2 separate regions of the Homo sapiens genome follow, and region 2 is linked to region 1. The links are contacts of gene promoters, found by promoter capture Hi-C in human tissues and cell types (Jung and others, 2019). All regions are on one chromosome and are shown on one strand. Each heading gives the region's core, a stretch centred on a gene start or on the middle of the fragment in contact. The rest is flanking DNA. Distances are from core to core; before and after follow the strand shown.

Region 1 (2,700 bases), core at 168-2,667:
TGTCACTGCTCCCTAAATGCCTGCCCCTGCTCCATCTGTCCTGTTCTCTGGGGCTTCCCAGGCCAAGCCTAGCGCCGACACAGAACAGCGGCTGCCTGAGGGCCCACAGCCTCCCCGGGAATCAGCCAGGCACCCTGTCACCTGCCTGCCCCCTGCACCCCAGGGGGCTCAGAGAGCGTGTGATGGTCATTCACAGGTACCATCCGGGATGTGGCCACCTACCCCCAGCTGTCCCTTGGGAAGACAGACCTCTCCTGTGTACTTGCGTGGAGAAGGGCGGTGTTATTGCTCTTTGCTCCCAGAACACAACTCACCCCCACCCGCCCTCTCAGGTGTGAGCAACGTCCCTCCAGAGAGCCTCTCTGGTCACTGCCTGTTCCTCCTCTACAGACAGCAGCTTGGCCAGGTCAAAACCCTCAGGACAGACCCCTGGGTGTGTCAGCACATGGAGGGCTGAGCCCATCATGGCCACGGAGTAAGTCGGGATGAATCTCTCCAGCTCTGAACCCCTGCTCTGTCCCAGGCTCCCCCTCCTGCGTCTCAATGAGCCATGTCCCGCGGGGTTCCTGGGTAACTCCCCACTTCCTCCTGCACCACCACGGGGAAGGTGTGGTGACCACAGGACAATCAGCTGGGCAGAGAAGAGAGGACATCAAAGATGGTCAGGGAGAACATGAGAAACCCTGAGCTCCAGCTCAGCCGCCAGACCCCAGGGAGCCATAGACTGACAGAGAACTGTCCCTTTGACTATGGGACTCACAGCCCCCACTGAGCAACCAGCACAGGCCTCTCCTCCTAAGAGGCATGAGAGATTCACCCTGCACACCTCCAGGAAGGACAGTTTCCTCTGGGACACCCAGGTCCTGAAAGTCCATCCTTGGAAGCTGCAGTCAAGCTTGACACGATTAGAGAAAGGAAGGGTCCCTCTCACCAGGCAACACACAGCTCACCCACAGCACAATGGGGTGTCACTGTGACAGGGACCTGGTGCATCTCCAGCCTCCTGCACTGAAGGGGAGAGCCAGATGGGGATGAAAGAGGGTAAAAGGCATGAATGTGCACCCCAACCCAGAGCCATGGGGACAGCAGGAGGCTGAGGCCCAGGACTGTGCTTGCCCAACCTGCAGGGTATGTGCCTGACTGTGTGGGTCTGTGTGTGTCTCTTCTGTGTGTGTGTGTGTGTGTGTGTGTGTGTGTGTGTGTCTGCACAAAGTGTGTGTTGAGGTTTGGTGAAAGAATCACTGCTGAAAAAGGCAGAGGCCTCCACAACTCCCAGGGACCTGAAACACAGACAAAAGGAAAAACAGAAGGAGGGACAAGGAGGCAGGACTGAGAGAGAAGGGGACAGAGAGGTGTCCTGGGACTGACCCCGCCCATGAGCTTGAGAAGTGCTCCTGCCCCGGGAAGAGGCTCAGCACAGAAGGAGGAAGGACAGCACAGCTGACAGCCGTGCTCAGACAGCTTCTGGATCCCAGGCTCATCTCCACAGAGGAGAACACACAGGCAGCAGAGACCATGGGGCCCCTCCCAGCCCCTTCCTGCACACAGCGCATCACCTGGAAGGGGCTCCTGCTCACAGGTGAGGAGAGAACTTCCTGGGAGAGGACAGGGGGAGGAAGCGGAGTGACTGGATGGGGTCTCCTGGAGAGGATGGGGTTGTAAAATAAAAGAAGCCAGCTCTTAGGGAGGCTGAGGTGGGTGGATCACGAGATCAGGAGTTCAAGATCAGTCCGGCCAATGCAGTGAAGCCCAGTCTCTCCTAAAAATATAAAAAATTAACCAGGTATGGTGGTGTACTCCTGTAATCCTAGCTACTCGGGAGGCTGAGGTGGGAGAATCATGTGAACCCGGGAGGCAGAAGTTGCAGCTAGCCGAGATACCGCCACTGCACGCCAGCCTGGGCGACAGTACGAGACTCCGTCTCAAAAAAAAAAGAAAAAAAGGAAAGAAGGCTCTGTTGCAGCCTGGATAGGGGAAAATACACCAGAGAGGGACAGGGGTCAAAAGAGGAAAGTCACATTGAACCGGAATTGGTAAGAGGTAGGAAAATCTTAAGTGTTCTGTTTTCCTGATTAATCATCCGGGGCCACCACATTTTGAAAAATGATAATAATAACTATATCAGATGACACTTCAAATAAAAATATAAGCAGGACATGAAACACTATCCTCAGCAAAAAACCTCAACAATTGGGGGAAAAAAAAACACCCAGGGCATGGAGGGCCCTGAGAACTCTCACATCTACAGGAGTCTGCAGCCTGTCCCAGGCACTGGGGTGCAACCAGGATCACAAAAGTCCCTGTCCTCACGGAGCTCACGCTGTCATGGGGAGGAAGACAGACATGCGAAGAGATGTAGAATGTGAGATCAGGTGTTGACAAGAACCCTGGAGGGAGCAGAGCAGGGAAAGGTCAGAAAGGGAAGACCCAGGGTCTCTGAAGGAGGTGTCAGGAAAGAAGTCTAAGGATGCCCTGATGTGAGCAGGACCTGAGGGCAGTGTGGAGGGGGCCGTGTGGACCCCTGGGGAAGAGGATTCCAAACAGAAAAATGCCAAGGTCAGAAGTGTTGAAGGAATGGGGGTCATGCTGCTGACCTTGACCTAGTAGGACAGTAGGACACACACACATACACATACACAAACACACATGCCCGTTTTTTGTGTGTGTTTGTTTGTATGTGTGCGTGTGTGTATCTTCAAG
Region 2 (2,854 bases), core at 329-2,828, 42 kb before region 1:
CCATTGCGCCTGGCCCATCCCTACACTATTCTAAGTAAAATTCCATATAGTAATCAGTAGTTCACTGTCTTAAATTTAGAGGATGACTTCTGGGCATGTCTTTTAGTGGAAAACAGCCTGACCTGTTTGCCTTTGAGTGGGAGGACCCCCACAGTGGGCAGAAGCAACAATACAGATGGACAGTTCTGTATCAAGGGTTTGCAGATTCACCAAACCCTTTTAGTCATGCCTTAGAGAAAGTCATAGAGAGGGCTGCTATCCCAAAACAGCTATGTTTACTTAACACATGGATGATATTCTTATACCTGGAGAGGATATAGAGAAAGTAAATAAGTACACCATCTATTTTCTAAATCATTTATACACTGAAGGGCTACGAGTCTCAAAAGAGAAGCTCCAATATGTAGAACCAGAAGTCAAATACATGGGCCATTTAGCACCAGCAAAAGAAGAATTGGTCCTGAGCGAGTAGAAGGAATTCTGTCCCTGCCACTGCCCTGGATCAAACAAGAACTTAAAAAGTTTGTAGGATTAATTAGATACTGCCGATTATGGATCGACTCCTATGCATTAAGAAGTAAATTATTATATGAAAAGTTAGCTAATAAGGGGCCTGACCCCCTTATGTGGTCCTCTAAAGAAGTAGATCAAATTAATAAACTGAAGCATAGACTAATGTCTGCTCCAGTTTTAGCTCTGCCTTCTCTTAAGAAGCCCTTCCACCTTTTTGTTAATGTAAGCAATGGAGTAGCCTTAGGGGTGCTCACTCAAGAACACGGAGGCCGGTGACAACCAGTAGCTTTTCTGTCTAAGATTTTAAATCCTGTTGCCAGTGGGTGGCCCCAGTATATTCAATCTATTGCAACCACAGCCATATTAGTAGAAAAAAGTAGAAAAATAACCTTTGGGGGGTATTTGACCGTGAGCACATCTCATCAAGTCAAGACCATTTTGAGCCAAAAAGCAGGAAGCTGGCCCACTGATTCCAGAATTTTAAAATATAAGGCTATTCTGTTAAAAAAAAAAGGATGATTTAAATGACTTAACCATAACAACAGATAACTCACTCAACCCTGCAGGGTTCTTGACGGGAAATCCGTTGCTACAGACAGAACACTTGTGCCTCAACTTAATTGACTACCATACAAAAGTCCAGCCAGATTTAGCTGAGGCCTCTATAGATCGGGGCAACACCTATTCATAGACAAGTCCCCCTGGGTGTTTAATGGGGAATAACACAGTGGATATGCAGTAGTAGATAGAGAGACACTCGAAGAAATTAAATCAGGATGGTTACCCAATAGCTATTCTGCTCAAGCTTGTAAATTATTTGCCTTCAGTCAGGCCTTAAAATATTTAAAGGATCAGATAGAAACTATCTACACAGATTCTAAGTATGCCTTTAGGGTAGCACACACATTTGGGAAGATTTAGGCTGAACAAGGTCTTATAAATAGTAGGGGCCAAGAACTTGCTCATAAGTCATTAGTCATGTCTTAGATAATCTCCAGCTACTAAAGTAGATAGCCATCATGCACATTCCTGGACATCAACATGATTTTTCCCTTAAGAGCCGAAGGAATAACCTTGCAGATCAGATGGCCAAAAAGGCTGCAGTCTTAGATATGCCCATTTTTCATTTAACTCCCCACCTTCCTTCTCCTACTGTTGTGCCTATCTTCTCCCTGGCTGGGAAAGAAAAATTAGTTGAAATCCCAAAGCAAAAAAAAAAAAAAATTCATAAGAAAGCTGCATACTTCCAGATCAAAGAGAGATGCTATCTAAACCCTTTATGAGGGAAGTATTATCCCATTTACATCAAGGGACTCACTGGGGTCCCCAGGCCCTATGTGACATGATTCTCAGAGTCTTTAGGTGTATTGGCATTTATATTCTAGACAGGCAGATCACAAATGGCTGTCTCATCTGTAAGAAAGCTGACAAACAAGCTGAAAGGAAATTGCCTTTCGGAGGAAGAACTCCGGAGTTAAGACCATTCCAAAACGTCCAAGTCGATTATACTAAAATGCCACCCATTAGTCGGCTAAAACACCTGCTAGTAATAATTAATTACCTTAACCACTGGGTAGAAGCCATCCCCTTTTCGAGGCAACTGCCAATAATGTGGTAAAACCATTAATTGAGCATATTATACCCAAGTTTGGAATAATAGAAAATATTGACTCAAACAATGAAACCCATTTTGCTGCACATATTATTAAAAAGCTGGCCCAAGTGCTAGACATAAAATGGGAATATCATATTCCCTGGCATCCCTTATCCTCCGGACAAGTAGAAAGAATAAATCAAACCCTTAAGAATCATCTGACTAAATTAATTCTAGAAACTCATTTACCATGGACCAAATGTCTTCCCATTGCCTTATTAAGGATCAGGACAGCTCCCCAAAAGGATACAGGCCTGTCTCCATATAAAATGTTATATGGATTGCCTTATTTACATTCCTCAGCTAATGTTCCTATGTTTGAAACTAAGGATCAGTTCCTCAGAAATTATATACTTGGTCTCTCCGCTACCTTTTCTTCTCTTAAGATAAAAGATCTCTTAGCACAGACACCACCGCTAGAATTTCTAGCTCACCAGCACTAACCCAGGGACCATGTTCTCATCAGAGGGTAAAAAGAAGGGAAACTTGTGCCCGCCTGGGAAGGCCCTTATCCTGTACAGTTGACCACCAAGACTGCCATCCGCACAGCCAAGAGAAGATGGACCCACCATACTTAAGTCAAGAAATCATCTTCCTCATCAGAATCATAGGTTAGTGTACCGGGATCAAGCCTTAACAAGTTAAAGTTAAAAAAAACCAAAAGCTTAATTTCCATATCCCTTCTAT

What was found. Contacts are between HindIII fragments. The study calls those that stand out against the background at their distance.
Region 2: a contact is called between a fragment that was not itself captured here and the fragment with the promoter of PSG9 in region 1, in 8 of the 25 tissues and cell types used here (H1 embryonic stem cells, aorta, bladder and 5 more).

Annotation. Positions count from the first base shown.
Region 1 is chr19:43,268,247-43,270,946 of GRCh38, reverse strand. PSG9 (pregnancy specific beta-1-glycoprotein 9) reads left to right here and starts at 1,417. Exons shown (of 6, transcript NM_002784.5): 1 at 1,417-1,579. The coding sequence starts at 1,516. The HindIII fragment of the contact is 8,927 bases long and covers 1-2,700 here.
Region 2 is chr19:43,310,514-43,313,367 of GRCh38, reverse strand. No RefSeq gene overlaps it. Among named protein-coding and RNA genes, the nearest start is that of LINC03078, 20 kb to the left of the region's middle. The HindIII fragment of the contact is 6,408 bases long and covers 1-2,854 here.